Regions from separate parts of the Homo sapiens genome. Here region 2 is linked to region 1. The links are contacts of gene promoters, found by promoter capture Hi-C in human tissues and cell types (Jung and others, 2019). All regions are on one chromosome and are shown on one strand. The core of a region is centred on a gene start or on the middle of the fragment in contact, and the rest is flanking DNA. Distances in the headings are between cores, read along the strand shown.

Region 1 (5,315 bases), core at 346-2,845:
TCAACTAAATGACATACACATGAAACAAATACTTAAATTTATAAGCAGTTCTTCCCCAGGGCAGGAAGTGAAACGGCATGTTCACAAGTAAGCAAAGAGTCTCGAGAGACCATTGTTTTTAGCTCTTTTTCCAGTGCTATCCCTCTACTCTTTCCTCAAATGCTCTTTTTTTCCCCCATCAAAACATGTAATCCAGAAAAGCATGTGACTAATTCATCCTCATTAAAGTGTAAATAAGGGACAAGGCTTAATGTCTCCCAGAGGTATTTATCTACACCATAATTGGGAATAAGGTCACTGGCTTAAAGGGAAGGAATGCGAATCTAGTGATGATGTTAACGATCTGCAAAGCAACAAGAAAGAACAATTTTAGTCCTGAGAGCCTTCGCATTGCTCCTGAAGTCAAATCGACAAGCCATCTCAGCACTTAAAGCTGGATATGGCCACCAGACACCCCTAAAGCTCCTTTATCCAGTCCTCTAAAGTGCTTCTTTCCTAAAGTAGGTGCTCAGGCATCACTGACTGGAGCTACGGGAGTCTCATTCTGACTATGCCACTGACACAACCACGACGGCTGCTACCAAACCACAATCGTTAGCTTCTTGGGATTCTTGGTTTAAGTCCTAGGAGTTGCTAAAGAGGCCAGTGTAGGTAAGAATGAGCTCAAGCTTAGGAAGGGCCACTGGGTGAGGTGCAGACCTGCCTCCACTGCTCAGAACGCATCCCACTGCTCAGAACAGTAGCCAATAAAGAAAATGATCATCAGCAAAGTAACTTTTGAGCACTGAAAGGAAAGCCCACCCATGGCTGAACAAGTCTCTGTGATATTTGTAACATTTCCCACTAGAATCTCTACCAAAAGATTAGAAGAGTGTTTAACACAAGAGTTTCAGTTATTCCCCCTAGGCAGGATAAGAGACAGACTGCTGAGCTTCCCTGGGGTTACTTACCTGAGATCCATATCTCCATCAACCCAGAAGGTGAAAATGTTAGAGATGGTGCCCCCCGGGCAGCAGCCCATGATGAGAACAGCAATAGCTTGGACTGGCTTCAGAGAAAAGCTAATGGCCAGGAGATAAGCTGTAAAAGGCATGAGCCCAAACTGGCAGAGCAGTCCCACAGCAATGCCCCAGGGTCTCCTGATGTGCGACCACAGCTTCCGGATCTCCACGGAACATCCCAAAGAGAACATGAGCAGCCCCATCATCACAGTGGACACCACTGTGAAAACGAGCTCCAGGTTTCCATGCACCTCCAGTCCCACTGGCAGCTCCTCCTCTGAACTGTTGGCAGGGCAGGCTGAGCTGCTGGAACAATTGGCTCTCATCTCCTCATCTCCTTAAGGCAGCATTACAAATGAACATCGGCAACAATGGCTGGGCAGGTCTATCCTGCCACATTTTGTAATAGTGCAACGAAGTCACACATGGAGAATCATTCCAATAACTGTTGGCCAGCAAGGTGATTCATCCTAATCTGATCAATTTTTTCACAAGTGGCATTATAAAAGTAATTATCACAGGCATGAAACATATAATAAACTGTGGTAAGTAAGGCTTTCCACTTCTGTTCTTACTCACCACTGAATATGTATGTGAGATGAGACAAACAAACTTGTTGTCAAGTGGAGTGACCGGGCTATGTCGTCAGCATCACATTGTGTCCCTGGAAAGTAGGGTGGATGCCAAGAAATAATTTCTCCAAATTCAGTTGGGATTTCAAAGAGCCAGGATGCACAGACAGAAAAGCTAACTCCGGAAAAAACAACAAAGCCAAAGCCACACCTTGTAGCATTAGCAAAGCGTGTCTGCTGGAAATAGAGCAAAAAGAAAAAAAACGCCGGTGGAGGAAATGTCAGGAGGGACTAAGAATAATTTCAAGGAGCTTCAGAATTTGTCTCAGTTTTTCTTCTAGTTCTATTAGAATTTGTGTCTAAAGTCAATAATTAAACACCTGTGAGAATAATATGGTATTAGGCACCTAATTATGTCTCATGAAACATGTGAAAACTAATTCCTTCACCCAAAATAATTCAAGGGAGCTCTCACTTGCTTTTGGAGATAAGAGTCTACTTTGAGATACATACCCCTGGCCTCCTAGGGACATCTGGGAATCCTGCAAGGGGATGTGGTAAAGAGCTTGGTCTGAAATGGAGATGGGGTCTGAGGACAGCCTCTGACCACAGTGCCCAGGGCCCCTCTGTGCATTCTAAGCAGGCACTGCTGGCAAAACCCAAGGACTGTATGGTTCTGTGAAACTAAACCTCTGAAAAAGCAGGTGCCACACCCCTTCTCACAGCAGAAAGTTTATTTGTGGGGCACAGGCTAGTAACAAGGCACACTTCATAAACGCCTCTACCTGTCTCAAGAGGGATACTAGCTATGCATTGTTTATTCATGGATGAGCAAATTCTTCTCCATGACAGAATGCTCAGGACATGCTGACTGTATAAAAATACAAGTTAGATTCAAATGTGAAGTAAATTCTAACTATTTGAAGAAAGAATAAACTGCCTTTGGCAAACAAACCCTGAAGGCAGCTCTGGCCATCCAGCCTCCCTGGAGGTTGCGTATAAGGGGTCAGTCAGCACAGGGCGTATTTACGCAGAGCCCTGCAGAGAATGGACACTGAGGAACGGGAAAGGTCTCTGGAAGGCAAGGTGTTCCCAGCTTGAATGATGCAGAGGTGTGGTCAGGCTGAGGAGGAAGGGAGGAGGGAGACAGCTAACATTTTCTGAGCACTTCTCAGGGGTGACAGAGGTGGTGATATGGTTTGGCTGTGTTTCCCCCGCACCCAAATCTCATCTTGAATTATAGCTCTTATAATTCCCATGTGTCATGGGAAGAACCTGGTGGAAGGTCATTGAATCATGGGGGCGGGTTTCTCCCGTGCTGTTCTCATGATAGTGAATAAGTCTCTCAAGTTCTGATGGTTTGATAAAGGGGAGTTCCCCTACACACGCTCTTGCCTTTTCTGCCACCATGTAAAACGTGTCTTGCTTCCCCTTCCCCCTCTGCCATGATTGTGAGGCCTCCCCAGCCATGTGGAACTGTGAGTCAATTAAACCTTTTTCCTTTATAAATTACCCAGTCTTGGGTATGTCTTTATTAGCAGCGTAAAAACAGACCAATACAGGTGGCTAGGTGCTTTACACATATGTGGCTATGTCTGGTGAAGCAGAACTTTATTTACTTATTTAGCAAGAGAAGGGGTCAGGGGTGTCTGCCTAGATAATGTCCAAAAGCCCCTTAGTCAACCTTCTTTTTTTTTTTTTTTTTTTTTTTGAGATGGAGTCTCCTACTGTCGCCCAGGCTGGAGTGCAGTGGAGTGGCGCGATCTCGGCTGACTGCAAGCTCTGCCTCCCGGGTTCATGCCATTCTCCTGCCTCAGCCTTCTGAGTAGCTGGGACTACAGGCGACCACCACCATGCCTGGCTAATTTTTTGTATTTTTAGTAGAGACGGGGTTTCAGTGTTAGCCAGGATGGTCTCGATCTCCTGACCTCGTGATCTGCCCGCCTCAGCCTCCCAAAGTGTCAACCTTCTTTGTTCCCAGGAAGAGTCACTTGAATCGCCCTTTTTAGTTATACAAATTTAAGTTTTGTATAAGCACCTCCATTCCTGATAAGGATGGTATAAGCACCCCCATTTCTGATGAGAATGGTGTGACGGGAACTTTTGTGATTGCTGGGTACTCAGTGCTGATAGAGGGGAGGGGGCTAAATATGCATAGCAGCCTTAAGGAGCCTCCTGGGAGAGGGAGAAAGGTGACCTTGGCCACTTCTCTTTTAAAATGTAGTGTTGGCCGGGCGCAGTGTCTCATGCCTGTAATCCCAGCACTTTGGGAGGCTGAGGCAGGTGGATCACGAGGTCAGGAGATCGAGACCATCCTGGCTAACACGGTGAAACCCATTCTCTACTAAAAATACAAAAAAATTAGCCAGGTGTGGTGGCGGGCACCTGTAATTCCAGCTACTCAGGAGGCTGAGGTGGCAGAATGGCATGAACCAGGGAGGTGGAGCTTGCAGTGAGCGGAGATTATGCCACCAAACTTCAGCCTGGCAGCCTGCACGACAGAGCGAGACTCCGTCTCAAAAAAAAAAAAAAAAAAAAAAAGTAGTGTTATCAGAATTTCTCAAAAGAATTAGGATGTTTCCGACTGAGGTCAGCTGGTCCTAACACACACCAGGAAAGACAGGGGTTTCTTGCCTGATGACAGGTTCCTCTGTGTCCAGTCACCCTGGACAGATGCCACAGGACACAATGACTAAGTATATGGATATGACCTGAAGAGAAGTCATCTTGAGAGCCCAGGCTTGGACACCGCCATGTTGTGTGCCAGGACTGGACCGGAAGGGACAGGGTGGCAATGGATAAAGGCCCACTGGACTGGGTGGGGCCAATGCATCAAAAGGTCCCAACAGAAACAACCGCAGTGATCCCAGGGCCTACCAGCGGGCTGGTCAGGCTTTTCCAAGTTTCTCCCCAGTGGAGATGGGAAGGAGATTTTCCTGGGAAGAGTAAGCACTTAGGGTTCTCGGTCAATTTGTAAAGAAGATTTCAAATACAGGATCGCAGACTTCCTGCCCTTATTGGTAAGTAGAGATTCAAATGATTAATTAGAAAATTTTAAAAAGCATGACCAACTTTACATCCCAAGCCAGTGAGGCAGATTATGAGATCCCACTTAATCCTCACATTTATTCTAGGAAGTAACAAAGGCCCATTGGGGCCATATTATTTGTCGAAGATTATTAAGCAGGTAAATTATAACATTGGGATTTAAATCTCAATCTAATTCTCCACCTGTCCTCGTTTCCTTCCCTGGAGCACACTGAAGTGGAAGCAATGAAAAGCAGTCAAGAGCAAGACCATGCGGAAAAGACTGGCAACCACTTAGGCATAGCTCAGGGGTAAAACACCACTATTTGGCTTAAGGATGGAGAAATAAACTAATCCCTAATCTCTAACATTATCTTCTATTCTCACACACTCAAAAGGCATCTACATATGTTCAATATGTATGCACCTTCATTTTGAGATCCAGTTCTACAAATCACAGGAAGTATTTCATGTACTTCCAGCCTCTGTAAGTAGAATTTGGGGTGAAAGATACTCCTCAGGAAAACCAACAGAAAAGGCTGGGAATGTAAAGTCTGAGGGGAAAGTGCCAAAAGAAAAGGTAACCAGACTTGGCTGTGGAACTGTTTCCCACGCTCTGAAAGGCAGCACAGGGTAAAACTTCTAGAAGCTTGAAAGACAGAAAAATCCTATAGGTTCAAAAAGAGTTTACGTAAATTCATGAGAGATAAATCCA
Region 2 (5,188 bases), core at 2,630-5,129, 61 kb before region 1:
AGGATGTTTTGTCTGATCTATTATATCCTTAATCATTGTAACATAACTTTGTTTCTTTCATAAATTAATACATTGAGAGTCATTTAAGAAAATAAACATTAAATTATTAATGCCTTGTGAAAAGCCGTATCACCAACATTGATTTTAGTTTATTCTTTGTAATTTGCATTTGTGTGGTCTTCCATCATAGCAGCCAGGGTAGTTTTAGAACTAAAAATGACTGGATCACATTAGTGTAAACTACTTTTCCAGTCATTGCTACTTTTAAAATTGGTTGCTTAAAATTTGAAAGCACCTAGCAAATTCTGTTTAACACCTTGTCCCTTTCTCGTGTCAATATTTTTAAAGTAAAACCCCATGTAAATTATTATTTTTCAAGAATCTTATATACAAGAAGATGACATTTATGATGATTCCCAAGAAGCTGAAGTTATCCAGTCTCTGCTGGATGTTGTGGATGAGGAAGCCCAGAATCTTTTAAACGAAAATAATGCAGCAGGATACTCCTGTGGTCCAGGTACGTGAACCAGATGAATAAATTGGTATACTATGGAGTACAAAAACGTCTCTAGGGAGCATTTTTTGAGTAAATATGTAATGCATTAGTTCTTCTTCTGTTCCTCATTCATGTGTAATATTTCAGAAACAAAACAGAATTTGTTATCTCCTATTTTTTTTATTTTCCATATTTGTAAGTGGGTTACCTTATTAGTGAGATCTCCAAATGTATCATTTATATCATGGCTTTTACTTCTAGTAGGGTTAGTCCAAACATTTTCCCCCAGCCATTCTCATTTTAATTTTAGTAGATAATTTTAACCAGAAATTTTATACCAAAATGTACTTGATCATTTCTTCCTAACTTTTCTAGTTAAAACATTGAAACTATTTATGGATATTGGTTTATACACTGCCTTCTTTTGCAGGCAAATGAAAACTTTTCTACTTCCTCAATAGTTTTATAAATTCCTCTTGGCCTATATATTCCTCTCTCAGGTACATTAAAGATGAATGGGAAGTTATCAGAAGAGAGAACAGAAGATACAGACTGCGATGGTTCACCTTTACCTGAGTATTTTACTGAGGTAACAATAATACCTAAACAACCTAGGATATGACAGCTTGTTACAATTATGGGTTTAACCCAGAAGGTGAAATAATCAGAGATTCTTTCCTGTTTTACTCAAAAATTAAATTTAGGAGGAAAACGGAGATTAATTTCATGTGTTACATTAAAGTGTCATCCTATCCTAGTGAAAGAATCATTACACAAATTTTCTCAAATTAAAAAAAATAGAAAAAAAAACAATTAGTTTTCAAAAATGTAATGCTAAACTTTATAAATTATTCTTTAAAACCTTAAAACTTAGGATCTTCTGGGATATTAGGCTAAGGAAAAGCATGAAATAGTAGATAAATTATATTTCAGGTTCTTCAAGCTCAGCATCACCCTATGTATACAAATCTGACCTTGCTTAATATTCTGGGATAATTCTCCTCATTATCCTTCTTAGTCTTCCTACTTCATATCTTCAAAATTATTAAAACTGTGCTGGTTTGAATGTTCTTACACTAGTTATCATGCATGCTTATACTTACACACAATCTCATCCATACATGACTGTTCATTAAATATTTACAAATAATGTGTATATATACAAGGAAGCTTACGGCTGATAAGTATGTATTTCTCAAGCTACAAGAATAATCATACAAATATTAGATATCTCAAAATGTGGCATTCGCTAGTGGTTTTTCTTAAGATGCTCTTTCATATAATCAGAATATTAATAATTACAGTAAAAATAGGCTCTTTAGAGAAGATTTTCTGAACATTTTAAGTCATGACTTTATCACATTTTTATTAATATTTAATAGTAATATTAAAATGCCCCTTAAAATGTATGTTGTAATGTCTTTTAACTAAGAAAATAAAAATCTTTAATTGCCATTTCAGAAATGTGATGTAGGCCGGGCGCGTTGGCTCATGGCGGTAATCCCAGCACTTTTGGAAGGCCGAGGAGGGCAGATCACTTGAGGTCAGGAGTTCAAGACCAGCCTGGCCAACATGGTGAAACCCTGTCTCTGCCAAAAATATAAAAAATTAGCCAGATGTGGTGGCGCACACCTGTATTCCCAGCCCCTCGGGAGGCTGAGGCAGGAGAATCACTTGACCCAGGAGACAGAGGTTGCATTGAGCGGAGATCATGCCGTTGCACTCCAGCCTGGGCAATGGAGCGAGACTCAGTCTCAAAAAAAAAAAAGTCATGTCACATGCTTTTTCTTTTAAAAAAGTAAGGAAAGCTTGTTAATATAGATTCTCATTTATACTGAGCTATGACTGTTTTATGGCAGAAAACTTCTTTCAAGTTATCTTTTTTTTATTATTTTCATTATGAAAATATTACATCCTTATTGTAAAAAAGTTTCCAACAGAATCTTCAAAACTGTTAAGTCCTAGCCGGGCATGGTGGCTCACGCCTGTAATCCCAGCACTCTGGGAGGCCAAGGTAGGCGGATCACCTGAGGTTGGGAGTTCAAGACCAGCCTGGCCAACATGGAGAAACCCCGTCTCTACTAAAAATACAAAATTAGCCGGGCAAGGTGGTACATGCCTGTAATCCCAGCTACTCGGGAGGCTGAGGCAGGAGAATCCTTTGAACCTGGCAGACGGAGGTTGCGGTGAGCCGAAATCACGCCATTGCCCTCCAGCCTGGGCAACAAGAGCGAGATTCTGTCTCAAAAAAAAAAAAAAGTCCCTTTTTAAAAACATATTTATCTTATTCATCTGAGGTAGCTATTGTTAAAAATTTTGATTTCTACCTTTCCACTGTGCATATCAAAACATAAATATTTGTATACATACATAATTTTTTAATATACGTTTTATCACATGGTTCTGAATTTGGTTTTCACTTAACAATCATTACCCTCTTTCCATGTGAGACGTATAAATTTGCCTCATACTTTTTAAAGCCTTCCTATCATTTTATTGTAAGGTTATACCATAATTTATTAAATTGGCCATCTGTTAATGAATTTTAGATTTCTTATCAATAAGAGGAAACAAATTATTAGGAACTATATAATTGTCTTGCCACTGGAGTACAGATAGATCCTGCAAATACATGCATTGAGAATACATTTTGGGCTAGATAAATTAGTGCTTCCTGAATAAATGGGACTTTTGCTTTAGAATCTGTTTTAAATAATGGTAAACAAAGCAAAGAAAATGAGGGAACAAATTTAGGAAAGGAGTAACAGGGATCTTAGATTAAAACATTTAAAAATTTTATTTGTATCTAATTCTAGGAACACGTTTAAATCACTATGGCAATTATATTCATAAGCAGACAAATTTAAAATTTGCAAATATGACTAATCTCCCCTAGCTGAAAAGAAGACCAAGCTGGTATTCTGGAAAAGTTTTCTGTTTCATCTTGTATTTCTAGAATATTACCTACATTTTAGAACTGGCTAGTTTTAAAAATTATTTAGAACTTCTGACAATAATCTTTTGTAAGTTCTTGAAATCACCCTAAACAAATTGTATATTATTTACTGAATTGGTTCTAACAGTATATTCTGTAACTTTGAAAGTTTTATCATGTGGCAAAAGTTAAGATGCTAACCATTGGTATTACAAAAGTATAGGAATATCTTCTTACAGAAGAAAGATTATACCTCTGATAGCTATTTATACATTCATTGTATTTCTTATTCAGTATTGTAATTGTACTCTTTGGTACCTCTTAGTGAAGTACTTCAGGTCAATGCCTGTGTCTCATTTAAGAATGAAAGAATGAATGCTAATCGTATACATTACTATAAATTATTGTCTACAGTTTCAAAACCATTCAGCTATTGAACTCATCTGACTAATTTTGCTGGGGATAATAGGGTAAGAAGAGGTGTTAGGGTTTCTGTCCTAAATTTGCTTGTCCAGTCTAGTAGTCAGCTTGAGGGAAGTACACATGTAAATAAGTAAATAATTTTTAAAAAGCTATAGAAACATATTCTGTTAAATGTTTATATGGAGTTCAGTGGGACCTACAAAGAAGGGGGGAAATGGTAGGGGCTACACAGGAGTAGGTGGATAAAGTTATTAAAGCTTTCTAAAGAATTAGCATCTTAAAGGTATTTGATAGTTAAGCTAGGAAAGAGCATTCCATACATACCGTGGAGCTGCTTTAGCAGAGGAATGAAGGCATAGATGAGCCTGGAACATTCAGGACACTAAGTCATTGCGAGTAGGGTATCACAGGGTGTCTTGAAAGCTAAACCTAAAAAGATAGGCAAGGTATTAGTTCATGAAGTGACTTACATGCCATGCCAAGGAATTTGATCTTTCCACATCTCTTGCCACTGAAATGGATCAATATGCTTTCTAATTCTGGTTATTTTTTAATGGCTTTAATTTCTTCAAACATTGTCTTCTTATGTAGTGTTTTTAATTTCTTAAGCAAAAACAAGGCAAAAACTTTTAGTGACTCTCCATCACCTGAGGATAATCCTGCTTGACTGGTTGGATCTTAGGACTGGCTTTATGGGCATTCAACCAGTGCAATCACACAGAACCCTGTGCTTGTAAGAGCCTCCTACTCCTAATATGCTATAGTGCTGTGCTATCACCAACTTGAAGTTCTTAGTAAGTTTTTAACAAGAGATACCTTATTTGCATGTGACTCTTGGCACTACAAATTAGGTAGTTCGTCCTAGATCAAGGAGATGTCTCCTCTACTCTCAAGTTACTGGATCTGGATTCCTTGAGCACTAGGATTGTAAAATAACCTTCAAAGGGGCTGACCACGATAAAAAAAAATCTTAAATATATTCAGTGAGGCAGTACCACAGCTGCCTCCTCTTCCAAAGGTCCTTCAGTCCATAGTGACAAGAAACTGAAGGCCAATCTTCTTAACGCAACCCTCCCCCATACACAAGTGAACTTTACAAAAATAGTGGTAATTGGTTAATACAGGTATCACTGTAGCTTTTTTTTTTTTTTTTGAGTAACAGCAAGATTTATTGTGAAGGGCAAAAGAACAAAGCTTCCACACACAGTGTGGAAGGGGACCCAAGCAGGTTGCCCCACTGTAACTTATTTCTAATTGAGCTTTACCTCACCATTTTCATTTAATAATTGTGTTATTAAAATTTTCATATTTATAATAGCACTTAACTCTTATAA

The links. Contacts are between HindIII fragments. The study calls those that stand out against the background at their distance.
Region 2: a fragment that was not itself captured here is called in contact with the fragment with the promoter of SLC10A6 in region 1 in 1 of the 25 tissues and cell types used here (pancreas).

Annotation. Positions count from the first base shown.
Region 1 is chr4:86,847,789-86,853,103 of GRCh38, forward strand. It overlaps SLC10A6 (solute carrier family 10 member 6), which reads right to left and starts at 1,596. Exons shown (of 6, transcript NM_197965.3): 1 at 951-1,596. The coding sequence starts at 1,327. The HindIII fragment of the contact is 7,017 bases long and covers 1-5,315 here.
Region 2 is chr4:86,784,852-86,790,039 of GRCh38, forward strand. PTPN13 (protein tyrosine phosphatase non-receptor type 13) reads left to right here. Exons shown (of 48, transcript NM_080683.3): 39 at 380-517; 40 at 997-1,085. Among named protein-coding and RNA genes, the nearest start is that of SLC10A6, 62 kb to the right of the region's middle. The HindIII fragment of the contact is 3,788 bases long and covers 1,986-5,188 here.